2 separate regions of the Homo sapiens genome follow, and region 1 is linked to region 2. Evidence: promoter capture Hi-C in 16 types of primary human blood cells and fetal thymus (Javierre and others, 2016). All regions are on one chromosome and are shown on one strand. Each heading gives the region's core, a stretch centred on a gene start or on the middle of the fragment in contact. The rest is flanking DNA. Distances are from core to core; before and after follow the strand shown. Region 1 overlaps KDM4B (lysine demethylase 4B). Region 2 holds the start of PTPRS (protein tyrosine phosphatase receptor type S).

What was found. Contacts are between HindIII fragments. The CHiCAGO score rates a contact against its expected background, and 5 or more counts as called.
Region 1: a fragment that was not itself captured here is called in contact with the fragment with the promoter of PTPRS in region 2 in 1 of 17 cell types (megakaryocytes); the score reaches 5.0 in megakaryocytes.

What each region holds. Positions count from the first base shown.
Region 1 is chr19:5,077,201-5,081,810 of GRCh38, forward strand. It overlaps KDM4B (lysine demethylase 4B), which reads left to right. Exons shown (of 23, transcript NM_015015.3): 8 at 167-270. Among named protein-coding and RNA genes, the nearest start is that of PTPRS-AS1, 98 kb to the right of the region's middle. The HindIII fragment of the contact is 7,055 bases long and covers 1-4,610 here.
Region 2 is chr19:5,338,684-5,343,006 of GRCh38, forward strand. It overlaps PTPRS (protein tyrosine phosphatase receptor type S), which reads right to left and starts at 2,129. Exons shown (of 38, transcript NM_002850.4): 1 at 1,981-2,129. RefSeq lists an enhancer at 1-190 and a silencer at 2,057-2,336. The HindIII fragment of the contact is 5,182 bases long and covers 1-4,259 here.

The DNA of each region.
Region 1 (4,610 bases), core at 532-3,031, 260 kb before region 2:
CAGGCACTGGGGCCCTGAGAACCAAGGGCAGATCTGGGCCGTGCTCTGTGCTCCCACACGCCCGCTCTCCATGGGAGGAAAGAGCCAGCCTGCCCAGAGGGCAGCATCCTCGCTGACCCCGGCCGGCTGTGGCCCAGGAGACTGACGTCTGTCTTTTCGGCCCTAGGCTTCTTCCCCGGGAGCTCGCAGGGCTGCGACGCCTTCCTGCGGCATAAGATGACCCTCATCTCGCCCATCATCCTGAAGAAGTACGGGATCCCCTTCAGCCGGGTGCGTACGGGTGGGGCCTGCACGCCTGTGGGTGAAGTGGGTACCGGGTCCAAGCCCAGGTGGCCGCACATACCCCAGGAGATAAGCTGTTTAACCCTGGAGAAGTTTCTAGAACAGTGATTAGCATGCCAGAGGAGGGCCGCATGGCTCAGCAGTTAGCCTCCAGCTCTTCCACGGGGAAGCGAAGATGGCAGAGCTTGAATCTGGCGGGGTGTTAACCTCCCCTCCCAAACCAAACCAAAACTTCCTCCTGGGTGTGGCCATCAGAGGCCCCTCCGCAGGGGCTGCAGGGGTGGAAGGGCAGGGGCAGGCCCTGCTGACCTGGCAGGAAGCTGCCAAAGAAACAGAGGGCAGGGCCCCTCGTCCCGTGCAAGGTGGGAACCTGGTTCCTACCGCCCCAGGCCACACCCTAAGTCTCAGGCACCCCCACGGCCCATGTCACCCGGCCGTGGAGAGAACTGCCTGTTTAGAAGTGACATTTCGGGCTCTCCTGCACCGTGAAGACTGTGAACTCATTCAGTTCACTGCTTCAGGGGCTGCTGGTGGAGGCTGTGATGGAGGAGACCTGAGGCCGGGGGGTGGGGCCTCCCTACACCTGATTTGATGGACAGCTGGGGTTTGGTGTCCCAGGAGCAGAGCAGGCTGTGCTCAGGGTCCAGCTCAGCAACTGCACCCACTCGAGGCAGTTCCTTCCCCATGGAGAAGCCTTTGTCCATGGGAGAGTCTAGGCCTGTGTCCCCAGCTCTGTCCAGGTGAGAGGCACGTGCCAAGAACCTGCAAGGCAGGTCTGGGCCGCAGCCCAGCTCATGAGGTTCCACGGGAAGAGTGATGTGCAGGCTCGGGAGCGTGCTCTGTGGTGAGGCCCTGAGTGTCAGCCAGCCGGAAATTGCTTGTGACATTTCAATCAAACCGCCAAAGCATCAGCTCACACATCGGGGATCCGCTCTTCCTGGCGGGGCTGCAACCCAGAGGCCGCCTCCCAGCCGCTGCAGGCATTCATCAGACAGCACAGATCTCGCTCGGAGAAGTGCGCATTTCCGGCCTTTCCTCTTCTCCCCCGTCTTCTGGTTGGAACATCATTCAGTACCAGCAAAACCAGACAGATCACGGCATTGCTCAGGGAAGTGAGAAGTACTGATTTTCTGGCTGGTTTGTCTAAAACCTTCTCCAAAGTGGTGCTTCCTGGAGGGGGGTGCCCATCGAAGGGGTGGGCAGGCAGTGAGTGGCCTGGACTCCCAGGTCAGCATCTGTATCGCACTGCAGTTTATCTGTAAAGTTCCTGAACCTGAGCCAAAGGTGGCTCACCACCAGCCTCAGAGCGGCTGCTGGCACCATGCATGGTAGCAGGCGGGGTCCAGGCAGTACGGCTGCGCTCCCCAACACCGCCAGCTGGTTGCTGGGGCCGGGCGCCAGTTTCTCCAGAGGCTGCCACAGTGAAGGCCCCTGTCCCACTGCAGCGAACAGCACCCTGTGCCGCCCGGCCTGGGGACCGTCCTTCAGCCTCTCAGACGCCATGGGCTTGAGATGAACGTCCCTTCCAGACAGCAGCGTGGGTCCCCTCATCTGAATTCCTGGCAGCCTTCAAACAAGTGACTCCCCACACTCCCCTTATAAATCTTTGTAATGGTATTTACTTCTAGGAGAAAAAGCCGATCAATAGCAGAGCTTTTTAATAATTAAAAGTGTGTACTTCTGTAATCTGCCATTGACTCCCTCATTTATTCTGCAAGAGCTCGCAGAGGAAACCGAGTTCCGGGCTTTCTCCGTGCCTGGTGTCTGGGGCCGCGTCCTGTCACCACTGATGACTTTGCCGCAAAGCCTATTCATCATCCCAACGCCTTCTAATTGATTGTTGGATAATGTTGACAGCAGTGACACAGGGGACAGACACCGTGAGTGTGGAACGAAGCCACCAGGATGCAGGTTTTCTCGCAGGAACATAATCTTCTTGTCCTAACCGAGCACATTTTCTCTTCTAGGCCTTGGTTCATAGGAGGGCTGGGGGAGTGAGGTCCTTACACTGTGAGAGCTTGGCTCTCTGCTGCCATCACCCCCATTCAATCTTGGCATTCCGGGGGCCCAGCTGGATCCCTGAAGGCTCTGAGTCTGATGTCTGCCTGACGCATGCCTGCAGGCCTGGTTCTCCAGGGGAGAGACAGGGAGCCGTCACTTGGCCTTAGAGCAGGTGGTCAGGGAAAAGCCTTTCCGAAGCCGGCTCAAATAGGATAAAGGAATCAGTAATGGCATTTACTTTACTTTCTTAACTTTTCTTTTTTTCTAGAGATGGGGTCTCACTCTGTTGTCCAGGCTGGTCTCAAGCTCCTGGGCATAAGTGTTTCTCTTGTCTTGGCCTCCCAAAATGCTGGGATTACAGGTGTGAGCACCATGCCCGGCCCAGTAATTAGGTTTTTTTTTAAAAAGCCCCAAACCTTAATTTTATTTGCCCCTCATTTCACGGAGCTCCCAGCGTAGTGGGGAGAAGCTGGCCCAGAGAACCCCACGTCCTGCACAGTGAGGGCCAGCCCTTGGGGACCCCATGTCCTGCACGGCGGGGGCCAGGCCCTGGGGCCACGTGTGTTCCCCCCCCACCCCTATTTTCTGCCGCGTGCTCGTTCTGCTGCACGTGGCTGTCACTTGAATGGGAATTTAAAAATATAACTTAATGCACACTGACTTCCCTTGATTGGTGCAATTAATTATTTGAAAAGAAAAATATCACAGTGTTCTTAAGGACTGGCATTTTTCCAAGCTGTGTCAGTTTTGATTGATGTCTGACGCCGTGGCTGGCTTCTGAAAGCCTCACCAGTTCTGATGGCTTATTGGCGACTTCAGTGTATCCAGCAATCTCTGCTCATCTTTCTGGGGGAATATATAATGATCAGCAGGCCTGAGAACTCCTACAAATCAGAGATAAGAAAACAAATGGCCCGATGAATTCGGCGTGAGGGGCTTGAGCAGACGCGTTACGAAGGAGCTGCAGGAACGAAAGCCATGGTTCAGTGCCCAGCATCGGTAGAAGTCAGAGGCAGCCAGCTGGGAGACACCGCCAGCCCCAGGACGGCCACGTCAGAACACCGCCACCAGATGCCAGTGAGGAGGGCGCAGCTGCACGCTGCTCCCAGCCGGGGTGGATGCAGGGCGGTGCCATGGCCATGGAAAACCGTTCGGCATTTTCTTGGAAACGGAAGCATGTACCCTGTGCCCCAGCGATGCCACTCTGTGCATATTTACTCAGGAGAAATGAAAACATATGTCTCCAGAAAGATTGGTACATAAGTGTTCTTAGCAGTTTTCTTCACGAGAGCCCCAAACTGGAAACAGCCCGCACGTCCATCAACAGGAGGATAGATAAATAAATAACCATAGATCCACGCGCAACCGAGTACTGTTTAGAAATGAAAAGGAGCGGTCGCCTGGTGCACAGGACAGTGGGAACAAATCTCAGAAACGCACGCCAGGTGGAAGACAACAGGCACGTGTCCCTGCCGTACAACGCCATTCATGTGAACCACTAGGAGGGAACGAGGTCTGTGGTGACTGAGAGCGCGTGCGTGGTTCGGTGGGGATGGCCTGGTAGAGGGCTGGTAGGAGGGGTGCCTGGGGGCCCGGCATGTTTTGTTCCTGTCTGGATCAGTGGTTACGCCCAGAACTCCGAGCAGCCTGTGATCCCTGCGTTTTACTGGATGTTAAATAAAGATGAGGAGCCCACTTGACTTCAAGGATTCTAGTTCATGAGCCTCAGTTTCCACGTCTGTGGATTGGGCCCACAGCCCCACCTCCTAGAAGCCCTTGGCCTGAGCCCCGGGGTGCAGCAGGTGGGAGCCATCACTCCAAATTTGTTGTTGATCTTTCTGGATGGTCGTCTTTCAAAGGCTTTATCAACGGGCTTAGCAGTGAGCAGGGAGTGGGGGTCAGTGTGGCCATCTCGAGTGTCCCCAGAGTGGGGAGGGTTCCTAGGGCACAAGGCTGTAGCCCCCCAGCCCTGGTAGGCAGCCCTGCCTTTTCTTCCAGACCTTGGGGTGGCTGTTGGGAAACCTTGGGTCTGGGGTCATTGTGGGCCCCACCCCAGCCACGCACGCCTCGGCTCCTCAGTTTAGGGGGTCCTGCTTCAGAGACCTGCAAAGTCGAATGGGCCGAACATCCGAATTGGACCTGGGTCTGGAAGCATTGGCCCGCTCTCCAGGGTGCTGATCTGTGGTGTCAGGTCATGCCCCCGGTGTGCAGATATTTCTGGATCTCCATGACTTCATGGAGATCCCCTTGTTGAGATACAATTGAAAGATGGCTTGGGATGGCGGCGTGTCGCAGGCCCCTTCCTGGCGTGTTTTGCGCGTGCAGTG
Region 2 (4,323 bases), core at 879-3,378:
GCAGGGGGAGGGGGGCACAAAGGAAGGGACCCTGGGAGGGGGAGGGGACTTATGCAAATGGCAGATTCGACCAAGTCCCTGGGCCATTAATAAACGCTCCAGCAGCTGCCGCTGGTATCGCAGGAGCAGAGGAGCGGGATGGCTTCCTTCTCCCGGGCGAAAGGCGGCAGAAAGAGGGAAGAAGGGCGCCCCAGACAAAGAGGCGCCGTCACCCTCTGCACCCCAAGGACAGCAGCGATAGGGGGCCACCCAGAGGAGGCCAGAATCCCAGCAGCCAAAGTCCGGGTGGTGGCGGACGGGAGCCCGGAGCGTGTGGGTCCCTGTCCTTGGGACCCTAGGGGTCTCTTCCTGCCTCCTCCGGCTTCTAGGTATCATCCCTGCTGCTCAGCCGGGACTCCGACACCTCGGACACCCGCTTCACTAGCCGCGGCTGCCGGGATGTGTTTTTAGGGTCTCGGCCAGAGGCAGGAGGACCCCATGCTCAGAAGGGGGCTCCCCTAGATTGTGACGGGGGGGGACAGGGGAATCCCAGCTGAGCCCAGAAGGGGGAGGCAAGGCACCCCCAATGAGGCTCTGGGAGGTTTGTTAATTTGGGGGAATGAGGTCCCAGGAGGTGGCTGGATTTGAGGAAGGGTTGCAGAGGAAGGGGCGTTCTTGGAAGCTGCATATTTAGGGAGACGAGAAGACGATTTGAGACTGGGGAAAGAGGGTCAACCGAAGAAGGAGGTCCCAGATTTGGGGCGGGGGGTGTGGCTGAAAAAAAGATTCCCAGTTTGTGGGAAAGGTTCCCTGATTTGAGGATTCTGGAGAGAAAGCGGCCGAAGGGGAGTTCCCCAATTTGGGAAGGGGGGGAATTGGTGGGAAATGTCCAGGATTTGTAGGGGGAGGTCCGAAGGGGAGGATCTTAATTTTAGGAGAGATTCCCATAAAGAGAGGTGAACTTGGCCGCAACCTGGCCGAACCCTCGCACCCACGGCGCGGGCACTCTAACCTGGGGGGCTCCCCTCAGGGCACGCCCCGCGCCCCCTTTAACCCAGTGCCGACGGCCCCGCCCCCGGTATGACGTCACCTCCCCTCCCCCCGCAGCCCCCGGGGGCTCCCGGGGCGTGCGGAACCCGCGGGGCTGGCGGTTCCAGGGGCGGCTTCCCCACTCTCGGGATCCCCACGGGGCCCCCAGCGCGGAGGGGAGACTGGGGTGCTGGGCGTGCGCGTCTGCCTGCCAGAGCCCCTGGGGCTGGGGGCTGAGGCTCGCCCCTGGGTGGGGAGGCTGGAAGGGGGCGCCGAGGCCGCAGAAGGGTGGGGCAATGCCCGAGTGCCGGAGGGGCGACCTCCCATAAGGCAACGACAGGGCCCGGAGTGTTCCAGGGGAGACGGCGTAGACTAGGGGGTCTCCAGGGGAGGGAGACCCGGAGAGGGAAGGCGGCGGGCGCAGCAGCCCTGGAGCCACCCCGCCTGGAGCCACCCGTCCCGGCTCCTCTCCGCTCCGGGGCGCCCGCATGCCCCCCATCCCCCGGCACAGCGCCCCCTGCCTCCAGGACCCGCCCGGGGACCCGGGCCGGGCGCCGCCGGGGCCGGCACCGGCTCCGCACACACGCGCGCCCCCCTCCGCGCCTCTGCCCCGCCCGCAGCCCGGGGTGGTGCAGCCGGCGGCGCTGGGCAGCTTCCAATGCCGCGCTCTGGGCGCTTCCAGCCCAGCCCCCTCCCACGCCGCGGACGAAGCCCCCCCAGCACCCCCTGCCGAGCGCCCCCAGCGCGGCCCCGGCCCTGTCCCTCGGGGCATTGTCCGGGCGCAGCTACCGGGGCGCAGCGGCTGGGCGTGCAACTGGCTGCAGCCGAGCATCCTCCGAGCACAATGGCCGTGCAGGCTTCCCCGGCACAAAGCCGGCGCGCTGCCCACTCGGCTGCCTCCGAGACCCCCCTTGGAGCGCCTGCATTTTTTTTTCCTCTAATCCATGATTTTATTTTTTTTTTTGGCTTTACCTGGAGGCTGGCTGGGCTGGGCTCCCCCGGCTCTGCCCCGCTTCACATCGTGGCTGTTGCATGGGATCCGAGCGGAGCCCGAGCGCCAGCGGCTCGCGGCGTGCGCGCGCCGGCCGGGCTGCCGGGCGGGCGGCGCGAGGACACTCACTGCGGCTCGCGCTCCCCTAGCTCCCGCTCGCGCGCCCCCCCAGCCGGTGACGTCATCCCTTCCGCCAGCGCCGCCGCCGCCGCCGCCGGGTCGGGGGCAGGGCCGGCCCGTGCGCGTCACTGCGCAGCCGCGCGGCCGCCACGCCCCCCGGCCAATGGGACGGCGCAGCGCGGTCACGTGGCTCCGGGGTGTTTAAAGGGCCGCGGGAGCACGTGGGGCGCGGGGCTTCGCGGGACACGTGGGCGGCTGGGGTGGTGGTGGTGGTGGCGGCTGCGGCGGCGGCGGGAAGGGCCCCTGGGGCTACTGTCCGTGCGGGAGCCCCAGCGTCCTGGGTGCAAAGGGCATGGCACTTTCTGTGCGCTGCCCTAAACTGTGCCACGGCTCCCCAGTACCCTTGGAATAAAATCCCGCCTCCTCTCTGCAGCTCGCCGTTTCACATTAGCGCCCACTACCCTGTCCCCTCCCCCCCACCATGTCAATGATCCAGAAAAACCAGCTGCTCCTTCTTTGCTTTTTCAGAGATGGGGTCTGCCACCTGGGCCTCAGTACAGTGGTATGATCATAGCTCACTGCAGCTTCAAACTCCTGGGCTCAGGTGATCCTCCCGCCTCAGCCTCCTGAGTAGTTGGGCTCGGGTGATCCTCCCGCCTCAGCCAGCTTCTTACAGTTCCTCTAACTTGAGCATCCAAGAACTTCCCCTTCTCATCTTTCCAATTTCTGCTCAAATAAGCAGCGCCTGGGAGAAGCCCTCCCTGACAACAGCTACCAGCCACGCCCCACTCCACTCTATCCCATTATCCCGGTTTGTTGTTGTTGTTGTTGTTTGTTTGGTTTTGAGTCGGAGTCTCACTCTGTCGCCCAGGCTGGAATGCAGTGGCGTGATCGCGGCTCACTGTAACCTCCGCCTCCTGGATTCAAGCTATTCTCCTGTCTCAGCCTCCGGAGTAGCTGGAATTACAGGCGTGCTGTCACCACGCCTGGCTAATTTTTGTATTTTTGTTAGAGACAGTGTTTCACCATGTTGGCCAGGCTGGTCTTGAACTCCTGACCTCAGTGATCCGTCCACCTCGGCCTCCCAAAGTGCTGGGATTACAGGCGTGAGCCACCGCGCCTGGTCCCATTATCCCGTTTTTATTCTAGTTACACTACAGTGTGGCTCCAGAGATCCCTATTGTAGGTTGAACACATGAATGAATGGATGATGGAGCACTTCTTATAGAGTAAGCACTTTACACAGGTCTCACCTAATTACCATCCCCTGCTTCCCTGGAGTCAGGACGAGCCACAGTTGGAACCCAGCTAAAACACTGATTTGCTGTGTGAGGCCCGGAGCCTCACTTTCCCCATCTGTAGAATGGATTTGCCTCTGGATCTCAGCTCTCATCTGTAAAATGGGGCAAGGTAGCCCCTGCTCCTAAGGAGGGTGTGATGATGAATTGCTATAATGTGGCAGCCTGGCTGCCATTGGTGCCTGAAGATGGAATAATAAGAGAAAAGAGGCCGGGCCCGGTGACTCATGCCTGTAATCCCAGCACTTTGGGAAGCCAAGGTGGGCAGATCACTTGTCAGGAGTTCGAGACCAGGCTGGCCGACATGGCGAAACCCCATCTCTACTAAAAATACAAAAATTAGCCGAGCGTGGTGGCAGGTGCCTGTAGTCTCAGCTAGTTGGGAGGCTGAGGCAGGAGAAACTCTTGAACCCGGGAGGCGGAGGTTGCAGTGAACCAATATCACACCACTGCACACTCTAGCCTGGGCGACAGAGTGAGACTCTCAAAAATAAGGAAAAAAAACAGAGCGGAAGTAAATAAAAGGGGGATATTGACAAAGGTAAGGGGGTTGGAGGGCTCACAGCCACCAAGCAAGATTGCACATCAGTCCTTGTGTTTTGATCATGTCGAAAGCATTTATTTCCTCAAGGCACATATTTGGAGAAGGCCTGGTGCCCAACAGAGGAACTCAACTTTAGAATTGGTTTTTTTTTTCCTCCAAAATTGTTGATTCATTCATTCCAGGCCACAGATGCAGATAAACAAAAAGCATTAACCCGGGGAACAAAACGATAAGGCGGAAGTCATAAACAGGAGAAAAGAGAGGAGATAATGAATAATTTAACAAGGAACCTAATTTAAGCTTGGAGTTTCCCAGCGGCCAGTGCAGCAGCCACGTTTGCAGAGCCTACTTTGTTTTTCTTC